3 separate regions of the Homo sapiens genome follow, and all the other regions are linked to region 1. The links are contacts of gene promoters, found by promoter capture Hi-C in human tissues and cell types (Jung and others, 2019). All regions are on one chromosome and are shown on one strand. The core of a region is centred on a gene start or on the middle of the fragment in contact, and the rest is flanking DNA. Distances in the headings are between cores, read along the strand shown. Region 1 holds the start of DDIT4L (DNA damage inducible transcript 4 like). Region 2 overlaps H2AZ1-DT (H2AZ1 divergent transcript). Region 3 has its middle 16 kb from the start of SNORA101A.

Evidence for each region. The method cuts DNA at HindIII sites, captures the fragments that hold promoters and counts their contacts. A contact is called where the count stands out against the background at its distance.
Region 2: a fragment that was not itself captured here is called in contact with the fragment with the promoter of DDIT4L in region 1 in 2 of the 25 tissues and cell types used here (mesenchymal stem cells and mesendoderm cells).
Region 3: a fragment that was not itself captured here is called in contact with the fragment with the promoter of DDIT4L in region 1 in 2 of the 25 tissues and cell types used here (adrenal gland and bladder).

Annotation. Positions count from the first base shown.
Region 1 is chr4:100,188,924-100,192,984 of GRCh38, reverse strand. It overlaps DDIT4L (DNA damage inducible transcript 4 like), which reads left to right and starts at 2,517. Exons shown (of 3, transcript NM_145244.4): 1 at 2,517-2,682; 2 at 2,953-3,092. The coding sequence starts at 3,002. It overlaps DDIT4L-AS1 (DDIT4L antisense RNA 1), which reads right to left and starts at 2,952. Exons shown (of 5, transcript NR_125924.1): 1 at 2,911-2,952; 2 at 1-19. The HindIII fragment of the contact is 5,141 bases long and covers 1-4,061 here.
Region 2 is chr4:100,024,246-100,028,661 of GRCh38, reverse strand. H2AZ1-DT (H2AZ1 divergent transcript) reads right to left here. Exons shown (of 4, transcript NR_125923.1): 2 at 3,335-3,380. Among named protein-coding and RNA genes, the nearest start is that of H2AZ1-DT, 76 kb to the right of the region's middle. The HindIII fragment of the contact is 5,131 bases long and covers 191-4,416 here.
Region 3 is chr4:100,377,420-100,381,681 of GRCh38, reverse strand. No RefSeq gene overlaps it. Among named protein-coding and RNA genes, the nearest start is that of SNORA101A, 16 kb to the left of the region's middle. The HindIII fragment of the contact is 3,210 bases long and covers 870-4,079 here.

The sequences.
Region 1 (4,061 bases), core at 1,268-3,767:
CTGCTATCTCATTTTCTTTCTGTAAGAAGATGGATTAGTGAATTATAGTAATAAAAAAGCAAGCATGCTTAAGTTAAAGCCTTTGCCTATGATTTAGATAGTTTCTTATAATACATTGGTGTATGAAAGGAAATCAAATTATTTAACTGACTAGATTTTCTATTCATACACAACTATTTCCAGTAAGCACTCCCACAAACTGTTTATATAGTATTAGTTAGAGGATATAATGAAAGAGCAATAAAACAAACTTCTTTATCACTGCACTTAATAAACACCTGAAGTTCCCCAATGCGAACTTTCAGTTATAAATAATTGACTGTATCCACATTTTTCTGAAATCTGATAGACTGTGTCACCTTGCACTTAGCCTATAATGGCACTTAGTTTTTCCTAATTCTTCTCTATGCTTCAAATTTTTAAAAAATCAGTTCTGTTTAACCTTGTGAAGATGCAAACTGGTGATAGAATGGATTTTCTACGCTTTTAAGTAGATAAAAAAGGACATTCTTAATTATTCCAGGTATGTGTTTTACCTCAATCATTCCTTATGCCCTGTATGTCCTGAGAGCAAGGCCCATTCAGCCAAGAAGATATTATTTGAAGTCTTTTGTACATAAGTAAATTGTTTTCTGAAGTCAAATCCCAAAGGGCTTTGCAAAATTTCATTTAGTCAGGTGGGCCAAGAGCAACTACTACTTTCTGTAAGTTCCAATAATCTTTCTGGCCCTATGGGGGCATTTACTCTATGAATTATGCCTAAATACCCTAAGGAAATTGAAACGAGTAATTTCTTTATTTCGCTAGTATTGGTTCAGACCACTCATTATATTAATTCTAAAAATCCTCCTTGGAGGCAGGTTAAGTGGCAGCCTCATTAGTAATGCTGCCCAGACAAGGACAAGAGGCTCTGTGGCCTGCCCAGGGACTGACTGTCAGGCGGCTGGCATCCAACTCCTGACCATGGGCCCATCCATTGGTCCTGAACACCCTAGCCACTGAAACCGCTTTTTAATTGGCTTAAATGGGCTTGTTTATTTTCCACTTTTCTGTTTATTGAAGTAGAAGTGGAAACTGGCCTTCAAAGACCAGTCTATCAGCATCTCCTTCCTTGGCTCGCCTGACCTTCAGGCAGTGCAGCTGCCTGAACTGAGTTAAAAATGGACTGTCAAGCTGGCTTTAATTTCTGCTGCTCTGCGTCCGAATGTCCTCCCACTGATCTGTTTATCACACCCTCTATACCCCTTCTGTTGTTGTTTTTCTAAGAGTTTTATGCCAGGACAGCTGAAACTGCCTTTCAAGGTTCTAACCTGCAAATCCTTCTACACATAATCCTAGAGGGCCTGGGAGCCAACACTGGGATCTCTACTGTAGGAACAACCTTCTCCCTCCAGGCATCCCCTAACGCACCCCAAGCTGACTCTCTGAACAGATCATCTCCTACTGGCACACCAAAGCGAGAAAACCGTGGCTTAATAACTTTGGAAGAAAAAAATCAGGTTTGGCTTCTTGCTCATGGGCTATGCGGGCATGTTGCCTCTTTCCAGGGCTCCTCTGCCTCTCTGTGTGTTCCTGTGCAGGACCGCACGGAGCCCTCACAGGGATTATCTGCTGATCCCCAGCAGAATATAAAACTCTTTATCTTCAGTCTCTGAAACCTCTTCAAAATATCCCAAACCAAAGATCCTCCCAACAGGGCTCGCCAGAAACTTCTGCCTCCGGAAATGACAGTTGCTCTCGATGCACGGATAGAGGAGTACCTAAGATCCTACTAATGGTATTGTGTGTTTCTTGGCAAACTCCCGCTCAATTCAAGCTCCCCGCGCTCTGGGGCAAGGTCTAATTAGAAGAGTGCCAGGCTCACCCTTCCTGCGAAGAAAACGCATTAGCCACAGATGTAAGTGCACGAAGAATGCCAGGGAGCCACGGAGTGCGTGGGGTCATTAAGGCCCTTCTTAAAATGCTGGCGAGCCTTCGATGCGGGAAAGGAAAACTAGATCTGACCGCTTGCAGCAGAGGAGGATACAGAAACCCTGGGAGGCAGAGTAGAGTTGACTGGGTTAGAGGCCAGAAATAAGTGCATAAATGATGCTCAGTGGACGTTGCAACAGATTTAAGCCAAGTGTTCAGGATGACACAGCAAAGCCCCAGGACAAGGAAATGCACAGATCGCTTAAAGCTTCCCGCTGCCGGGAGCAGCCTGAGTGTGAAAGCGCGGACGCTCGGGGAGGGGTCGCACTGAACAATCAGGTTCAGGCTTTGACGAGTCGTGCACCCGGAATTGCGGTCCCAGTGGCCCGAGATCTACCCTGGAAGCAACAGGTGTCCGCTCTACCACAGGCTTATCCTCAACTCCCTGTGGCTAGGCTCGGGCTCCCTGGAAGTGTAGAGGTTGAAAGGGGACCAGACTCTGGAGGGGAGGGGCGGGGCGCTGGCCGGGGAGGGGCGGTGCAGGTGGGCGGGCCTGAGCAGGGTGGGGACTGGACCTATAAAGTTCTCGCTGCCCCGGAGGCTATGCTACTGCGAGGAGCCGGCGCAGGGTGGCCCGGGAGGGGTGAGCAGGGTGCCGCTGGCTGCTGGGGTCTGCAGGTCACCGAGTCCCCAGGAGAGGGGACTCCTAAGAAGCCACCTGCCTGTGTTTACCCGGCAGCGAGCGCGCAGGCCCCCGCGAACTCCTGGCAGGTGAGCGAAGCTGCGGCCTTGGTGGGGGCAGCGGGGCCGGGGGGCGCTCCGCGGGGCAGGTCGCTTCCAAGTTTTGCGAACTGTTGAGTTAGTTTCAGGTTGCGGCTCCGCTCCCAGGGCTTTGTCAAATTGAGTTGCAGAGGCCGGTTCCACCCCTTTGGCAAAGGAGTTCCTCCGCTAGTTCGCTCCCGGGACGCCGGGCATTTTAGGAGCCTCTGCACGACTCGCCTGCTTTTGCAAATCCGTCTCTTCTCGCCTCATTTTTTCCAGCGCTCAGGAAAGGCCGTTGCGCCTCGCGAAGGAAACAGAGCCGTTGACCATGGTTGCAACTGGCAGTTTGAGCAGCAAGAACCCGGCCAGCATTTCAGAATTGCTGGACTGTGGCTATCACCCAGAGAGCCTGCTAAGTGGTGAGTGTCCCCGCTGTCCACCCTTCTCCCCTCCCAAGGTCGGTGCCTCTGGATCTATTGGGTGGGCGGGCTTTCGACTTCCTCCCCTACCTCTATGTAGGAGGTGCCACAAAATCCATCTGAGGAGACTCCTTTCCAAATTTTCTAACATCTTCTCTCCATGATAGAAACAAAAGTAGCAAAAGTAGAATACCCGAGGGCTGCATCTTTCTAGTCTGGTGCCAGTAGGCCCCTTGGGATTAAGTTCCTTATCTTACATGATTGTGAAGAACACAGTTATGTGTGTTTTAGCAAATGTATTTACCCTGTAATCAATATCGCCCCTCCCCCTGAATTCCGACGCACCTATTTGCCAGGTATTCCTCACTCTCCCCTGACTCCAGGGAACTACTGATCTGATTTTTATCATTCCAAGTTAGTTTTGCCTTTAGGTAAGTGGAACCATACAGTAGGTATTCTTTTGTGTCTGGTTTCTTTCCCGCAGCCTAATGTTTTTGAGATTCTTTTATGTCCGTTGCTTAAATCAGTGTGTTCGTGTTTATTGTTTATTACTGAGTAGGATTTTCAGTCGTGGATATATCCATTATTCCATTTTTAATGTGAGAAGGAAACTGTTGAACAGCAGCGGTGCTTGACTTGCTGTCATTTGGAATTTTAACAGCAGTTTCTAGGTGAACACACTGCTCTGACACTAAAGAGCTGTAAGAGCATAGATAAACTGCTTAAGCTCTTCGTGTTTTTCTCCTTTCAAGGTGAAGTGGTTGATGACCTAATTTACAGGCCAGAACTCCAAACTTACACGAAGTGGAGAGGAAAAGCCAGTGGCTGATGAAGGTGGAGTAGGCTTAGAGAGAGGAGCTGGGAGGGCATCTGCCTGCACCTTGTTCATTTGACTCCGTGTGGTGTGGCATCCTGCCAAGGGGTAGGATTAATTTGAGGTGTAGGTGACCAAATGCAGAGCTATCTCTT
Region 2 (4,416 bases), core at 1,507-4,006, 160 kb after region 1:
TTACCATGTTCCCCATTATCCTGAAGCAGCTGTATTGATAGAATGGTGGAATGCCCTTTTGAAGTCACAATTACAATGCCAACTAGGTGACAATACTTTGCCAGGGCTGGGGCAAAGTTCTCCAAAAGGCCATGTATGCTCTGAATCAGCATTCAATATATGGTACTGTTTCTCCCATAGCCAGGATTCATGGGTCCAGGAATCAAGGGTTGGAAATGGAAGTGGCACCACTCACCATCACCCCTAGTGATCCACTAACAAAATTTTTGCTTCCTGTTTCCATGACATTACATTCTGCTGGCCTAGAGGTCTTAGTTCCAGTGGGAGAAATGTTGCCACCAGGAGACACAGTGATTCCATTAAACTAGAAGTTAAGATTGCCAACTGGACACTTTAGGCTCCTCCTACCTTTAAGTCAACAGGCTAAGAAGTGAGTTACAGTGTTGGCTAGGGTGATTGACCCGGGCTATCAAGATGAAGTCAGTCTACTACTCCACAACAGAGGTAAGGAAGAGTATGTATGGAATACAGGAGATCCCTTAGGATGTCTCTTAGTATTATCATGCTTTGTGATTAAGGTCAATGGGAAACTACAATAGCCCAATCCAGGCAGTTGGCCCAGACCATTCAGGAATGAAGGTTTGGGTCACTCCACCAAGAAAAAAACCATGACCTGCTAAGGTGCTTGATGAAGGCAAAGGAAATACGAATGAGTAGCAGAAGAAGGTAGGAAAAAAACCATGATCTGCTAAGGTGCTTGATGAAGGTAAAGGAAATACGAATGGGTAGTAGAAGAAGGTAATCATCAATGGCCCCGTGACCAGTTGCAGAAATGGAGACTGTAATTGTCATGAGTATTTCCTCCTTCTTTTGTTAAAAACATGTGTGTGCATATATACACTTGTACTAAGAAAATAACTTCATTTTATTTCCTTTTTCGTTTATCATGTGACATAAGATTTATTTACTTCATATCAGCATTCGAGCATCATTAACTTTATGTAAGAGTATTTGGGTTGGGGAGTGGTGCATTTCTGGCTGTATGAAGGATAGTTGCATTATGTTAGGCATAATTATGAGCTTATTATTGCTTTTATTTGAAGATTATGTATGATCTCAGGAGATGTGTATCGGTTAAAGTTGACAAGGGGTGGACTTGTGATGGTTAATACTGAGTGTCAACTTGATTGGATTGAGGGATGCAAAGGATTGATCCTGGGTGTGTCTGTGAGGGTGTTGCCAAAGGAGATTAACATTTGAGTTAGTGGGCTGGGAAAGGCAGACCCACCCTTAATCTGGGTGGGCACAATCTAATCAGCTGCTGTCGCAGCTAGGATAAAAGCAGGCAGAAAAATGTGAAAAGGCTAGATTGGCTTAGCCTCCCAGGCTACATCTTTCTCCCATGCTGGATGCTTCCTGCCCTTAAGCATTGGACTCCAAGTTCTTCAGCTTGGGGACTCAGACAGGCTTCCTTGCTTCTCAGCTTGCAGATGGCCTACTGTGGGACTTGAGATCATGTTAGTTAATACTACTTAATAACTCCCCTTTATATATAAATATCTATCCTATTAGTTCTGTCCCTCTAGAGAACCCTGACTAACCCCCAGTCTCTACTGAAAATAAAAAAAAAATTAGCCGAGCATGGTGGCACATGCCTATAATCCCAGCTACTTGGGAGGCTGAGGCTTGCTTGAACCCAGGAGGAGGAGGTTGTAGTGAGCTGAGATCACGCCACTGCATTCCAGCCTGGGTGACAGAGGGAGACTCTGTCTCAAAAAAAAAAAAAATGTTTTTCTTACTTGAAACAAGTACAGTACTTTTAAAAAAATTAGTTGCGTATTTGTTTCAATCAATTCATCAGCTTTTCCAAATATTAATATAATTATACTCTTTTCTCCAAACTATACAGGCAATCAAAATGCTGGAAAGGACTATCTGGGAATGTTAGAAATTCAATAACACGTAAACTGACCCTTAAGCACTATTTCCAATTGCTGAAACATAAATGTAAATTGCTAGTACTTTCCAGTAGAATTTTTACCAAAGATAGAATCGATCTATATTTGCACTGTCCAGTACAGTAGCCAGTACTGGCTATTGAATACTTGAAATGTAGACAGTGCAACTATGAACTAAAATTCTGATTTTATTTAGTTTTAATTCATTTACATTTATATGGCCACATTGTGGCTGTTGGCTACAATATCGGAGAGTGCATATCAGTCACCCCAGGAACTTATTAAAATGAAGATTCTACTTCAGTGGGTCTGTGTTAGAGCCTCAGAGACTGCATTCCTACCAAGTGCCCACCTGGCGATGCCAATGCTCTGGGTGTACGGACTATACTCCCAGTGGCAAGCACTTCAGCCAAGTGCAGTTAATCACCAACGACACTTTGCCACTTTGGAACCATGTCACTCCCTTCCTGATTCTCAAAGGTGTTTCTTCTGTTGTCAGGTGAACTTTATCAGAATATCGATTTTAAGCTTTAGAATATGTTCCTGAAATGCCTTCTTCTGCTGGTTCATGTTTACTTTATTAACCATTATAGACTTCTGGAGTAGTTTGAGCTGGCAGCATATTACACTCACCTAGGAATCATTTTCTGCTCATTTAAATCAATCTGGAGCTGGGCATCAGCATTTTTCAGAAGCTCCCCAGGTGATTCTAACATGTAGCCCAGTTTGTAAATTTCAAATTAGTGTATGTTTTATAGTCAAGAGCTCAAAACCTTAATAACCAAAGTAACGTTAACACAGAACATTGTTAATAAACTTATTGATATTCTGAATCTTGACCTAGATTGGTCCACGTTCCCCAGTTTGGCTCTTTTGAATCTAATCTGCTCTTTGCTTACATTGTGTAGACTGTTTTAAAATGCATTGGCCCCGCCCTCTCCATAGCTCCACCAGTACTCCTACCTCATCACCAAGTGGAAAAAGTAAAAAGGGTACCAAGACTTTAATATTAAGATCTCTAGCTTATTTTTGCTCTAGGGAAAGAGCACCAAAATTATAAGGTTTTCTATTTCAGCATAGGTTGAGCATCCCTAATCAGAAAATCTGAATCTGAATGCTCCAAAATCTGAAAGTTTTGGAGCACCAACATGACCCTCAAAGAAAAATCTCACTGGAGCATTTCAGATTCTGAATTTTCAGGTTAGGGATGCTCAACCAGTTAGTATAATACAAATATTTCAAAATAAAAAAATTAAAAAAAATCCAAGATCCAAAACACTTCTGGTCTCAAGCATCTCGGATAAGGGATGCTCAACCTGTACTTTCTGAACAGGTAACTCTGAAGCTTTGCTTTTGGGCAGATGTCATCATCTTACCTAAACCAATGCATTGCCTTCTCTTCATCCTTCACTACACCAGCTCCTAGGTAAACAAAAGATATTATATTTTTAAAAACGGACTCAATTAACTGCTTAATGCTAAAACCTATAAGCCTACAGATATATTAGGTTGGTGCAAAGTTAATTGTGGTTTTTGCCATTACTTTTAGAACTCTAACCAGCAAATCTCTCCCCACCTCTTTTCCCCCAGTGGAATAGCACCAGAGAAACAAAGTTACCTTACTTTTCACGTATCTTTGCCTAACAATATGCTGAGCACTGGGGTACCCAAAATGAGCATAAAAATGTGCCACATGGAAATGAAAGCTCTGGGAATACAGCCACATGTAAAGGAGAGAGATCATGGCTCCCACTGTGGCCAGGAGCTACAAAAAAGAAAAATGAGACAGGAGGAAAAGCATGGGAATCTACTACTTCAGCTATGGTTCAGATATGAAAGAAATGAGTATATTCTATGAGAAAAGCATTCCAGGATGAATTTCACATGATTTAAAGAGGAAGTGTATCCTTCAATGGCCTCTGTTGGGCAAAAAATCTTTATTGTCACTAGTCTTTTATTTTAAGACAGTCTTATATGTACTTTTCCTAGGTGATACAAGATAACTGGATTGCATAATTAAATGAATTGGATGCTGATCAATAGGATCTTGACAGTTTGTAAAAGAAAAACAACTGATGCAGAAGCAAAAGCGGAAGTGAAAAAAAGAATGTATGTGTTTGTTGTTTAGGCAGGGACATGGTGAGGGGCTGAGATTTGGAGCAGAGAAAAATTCCTGTCCTGCTCTGTTGCAGTCTGGAGAAGCCACAATCCTGGCCCATTTTCCCAATATCTCCAGCTGCTTCTATAGAAATGACAGACCCTCAGACTGCACTTCCTCAGACTGCTTCGTTCCTAAAGAGGTCTTGGCAAGCCAGTGGGTCCACAGAAGATGAAGGAAGATGAGATCTCACAGCCCAAACCATAGCCTGAGCTGACAATATGAGGATAATTCCTAAAAGAACCAGGGCCTTAGCAGGAGCTTTGTCATCACCCTTCTTAGCAGTTTGAGCATGCTGTC
Region 3 (4,262 bases), core at 1,225-3,724, 190 kb before region 1:
AATGCTTGTGATTTTTGCACAGTGATTTTGTATCCTGAGACTTTGCTGAAGTTGCTTATCAGCTTAAGGAGATTTGGGGCTGAGATGATGGGGTTTTCTAGATATACAATCATGTCATCTGCAAACAGGGACAATTTGACTTCCTCTTTTCCTAATTGAATACCCTTTATTTCCTTCTCCTGCCTAATTGCCCTGGCCAGAACTTCCAACACTATGTTGAATAGGAGTGGTGAGAGAGGGCATCCCTGTCTTGTGCCAGTTTTCAGAGGGAATGCTTCCAGTTTTTGCCCATTCAGTATGATATTGGCTGTGGGTTTGTCATAGATAGCTCTTATTATTTTGAGATACGTCCCATCAATACCTAATTTATTGAGAGTTTTTAGCATGAAGGGTTGTTGAATTTTGTCAAAGGCCTTTTCTGCATCTATTGAGATAATCATGTGGTTTTTGTCTTTGATTCTGTTTATATGCTTTGTCTTAACTTTGGATAACCTGATGACAATGTGCCTAGGCGATGATCTTTTTGTGATGAATTTCCCAGGTGTTCTTTGTGCTTCTTCAATTTGGATGTCTAGGTCTCTAGCAAGGCTGGGAAAGTTTTCCTTGATTATTCCCCCAGATATGTTTTCCAAGCTTTTAGAATTCTCTTCTTCTTCAGGAACACCAATTATTCTTAGGTTTGGTCGTTTAACATAATCCCAGACTTCTTGGAGTCTTTGCTCATTTTTTTATTATTCTTTTTTCTTGTCTTTGTTGGATGGGGTTAACCTGAAGATGTTGTCTTTGAGCTCTGAATTTCCTTCTTCTACTTGTTCAATTCTATTGCTGAGACTTTCCAGAGTATTTTGTATTTTTAAAAGTTTGTCCAATTTTTTCTGAATTTTAGATTTTTTTTCTTTAAGCTATCTATTTCCTGAATATTTCTCCCTTCACTTCTTGTATTGTTTTTTGGATTTCCTTGCACTGGGCTTTGCCTTACTCTGGTGCCTCCCTGATTAGCTTAATGACTAACCTCCTGAATTCTTTTCAGGTAAATCAGGGATTTCTTCTTGGTTTGGATTCATTGCTGAGGAACTAGTGGGATTCTGTGGCGGTGTTAAAGAAGCTTGTTTTGTTGTATTACCAGAGTTGGTTTTCTGGTTCCTTCTCACTTGGGCAGGCTGTGTCAGAGGGAAGGTCTGGGGCTGAAGGCTGTTGTTCAGATTCTTTTGTCCCACAGGGTGTTTCCTTGATGTAGTACTCCCCTCTCTTCCTATGGATGTGGCTTCCTGTGAGCTGAAGTGCAGTGATTGTTGTCTCTTTACTGGGTCTAGCCACCCAGCAAGTCTACCTGGCTCTGGACCGGTACTGAGGGTTGTCTGCACAGAGTCCTGTGATGTGAACCATCTATGGGTCTCTCAGCCATGGATACTAGCACCTGTTCAGGTGGAGGTGGTTAAGGGTTGCAATGGACTCCATGAGAGTTCTTAGCTTTGGTGGTTTAATGCTCTATTTTTATGCTTGTTGGCCTACTCCTGGGAAGTGGCACTTTCCAGAGAGCACAGCTGTGATAGTAGGAAGAGGAACTAGTGATGGGCAAGTCCCTAGAACTCCCAAGATTATATGCCCTTTGTCTTTCACTACCAGGGTGGGTAGGGAAGGACTATCAGGTGGGGGCAGGGCTAGGCGTGTCTGAGGTCAGATTGTTCTTGGGCAGGTCTTGCTGCGGCTGCTGTGAGGGATGGGAGTGAGATACCCAAGTCCATGGAGTTATGTACCTGGGAGGAATTTTGCTGCCTCTGCTGAGTCATGCAGGTTGTCAGGGAAGTGGGGGAAAGCCAGCCTCGCCCAGCTTCCATGCAAACCGAAGGGCTGGTCTCACTCTCACCATTCCCCTGCCCCAATAGGCCTGAGTTCTGTTTCCAGGTGGTGGGTGAGCTAGGCTTGAAAATTTGCCCCAGACTACTTGCCTCCCAGCTGCAAAAGAAAGGGGCTTGGTTCTTCCTCTGCCTGTGGAGTCTACACATAGGATTTGTGCCCTCCCCAGAGTTCTGGCCAGGAGGCTTCTCGCCCTGTTCAAATTGTTACAAAGATCAGCTGGAGATTTCCTTCTCCCTATGCAGTTTTCCCCCTCACTCCTCTGGCTGCCCTCCTGATGGATCCCTGTGGTGCCAGGCAGGAATGGCCTGCCTGGGGACCTAGTGAGCTCCCAGAGCCATTCTGCTGCTTTCTCTATCCCTGTATTTCACTTGACTCTCTAAACTGACTCAGTTCCAGGTAAGGTTGGAAGCTCCTCCACACAAACAGACTTTCAGTTTCTGCAGTGAGGGTGTGTGTTCAGGAGAGGAGGCTCTCCCTTTTCCTCTACCGCAGTTGAGGCACTCACAGTATTTGTGGTGTCTCCTGGGTCCTGTAGGAGCAGTTCACTTCCTTCATAGGGTCTGTGGGTCCTCTCAGTATTGCTGGTTTGTTCTTGCAGTCAATCTGAAGCTAAAGTTTACAATGCCATCCTCCGAACCATGCTCTGTCTGTCCCAGTCAGAGTTGCAATCTAGTCCTGCCTCCCGTCCGCCATGATGATCCCTATCCCATGTCTCTCTTTTTTTCTTCTTATTCTAGTTCTCTGTTACAAAATCCCAAAGAACCTGCAAGAAACCTCCAAAGAAGGTACAAGATGGGAAAGGAAAACAAAAAGAAAGGAAAGGAAAGGAAAGGAAAGGAAAGGAAAGGAAAGGAAAGGAAAGGAAAGGAAAGGAAAGGAAAAAAGAAAAGAAAAGAAAAGGTAAGAAAAGAAAAGAAAAGAAAAGAGAAACTAAATGCCAAAGCCTCTATCTTGTTTTAAAAAATAAGGACATTCATAATTCAATAAATTTTAGTCCCATTAAATATCTATTCAATAAATATTTAGCACCTAGAAATAAGTTCCATAAAAGCAAAAATTAGATAAAAATTGATGCTATTAAGAGGCCCTGGTCTAGTGTTGTGAATGTGTCTGTGTGTGTGTGTGTGTGTGTCTGTGTGTGTGTGGTGTTATTAAAATAGTTTCATTTAAATTTTATTAGTACCTGGACTAAGACAATTACCATAAGGGAAGAATAATGAAAACATTGACAGAATTCTATGGTGTTTAAGATATAAAAGATGAGCAAAGGAGATATCCCTTAGATGCTTCCCAGATGACCCACTTAAATGACTGGTTGGATCAATTTTAAAAACATAAGAGAACTGAGAGTGAATTTGATTTTGAAGAAGTAGAGTTTGCAATACATATTTGTTATACACATATTTTGGGTTAAGTGGACTTGTGGGAAGAATTAGATGCCTGGATCTCAGGAGAAATATCCCAACTGGAAATATAGACTTAGAAGTCATCAGCATATATGAGAAAATGTCAAAAAGTTTGTGGAAAAATTGAACTAAAAAATAAAAAGAAAGATATAAACTTTATTTCTCAACATAAGCTCCATCAAATTCAAGACACTTTTGTAAGTGAAGATACTACCATTTAGTCCATCCCTAAAGAACTGAGGGTCCAGGGATTTTACCCATGTCAATGCAGTCTTTTTCACATTAATAATGAAGGAAACCTGAGTGACATTTAATTTTTTTTTAAGATTAGGAAACAAAAAGAAGTCAGAAGGAGCCAAATCAGAACTGTAAGGTGGATGTCTAATGAATTTCCATTGAAACTCGCAAAATTGCCCTTTTTGAAGGAGCAGGAGCATTGTTGTGGTGGAGAAGGGCTCTCTGGTGAAGCTTCTTTAGTTGTTTTTCAGCAAAAGCTTGGTTAACTTTCTCAAAACACTCTCATAATAAGCAAATATTGTTGTTCTTTAGCTCTCCAGAAACTCAACAAGTGAAATGCCTTTAGCATCCTAAAAAACTGTTGCCATGACCTTTGCTTTTGACCAGTTCACTTTTGCTTTGGCTGAACCATTTCCACCTCTTGGTAACTATTGTTTTGATTGTGATTTGTCTTTGGGATTGTACTGGTGAGCCATGTTTCATCTCCTGTTATAATTCTTCGAAGAAATGCTTCAGGATCTTGATCCCACTTGTTTAAAATTTCCATTGAAAGCTCTGCTTTTGTCTGTAGCTGATCTGGGCCCAATGGTTTTGGCACCCATCGAGTGGAAGTTTGCTCACCTTTAATTTTTTCAGTCAGAATTGTGTAAGCTGGGCTGTTGTCTATTCTTTCTGCTGATAATTGTCAGTCCTCTTTAATTAGGGCATGAACAAGATGAACTTTTTTCCTCATGAATTGATGTGGATGGTCTGTCCCTG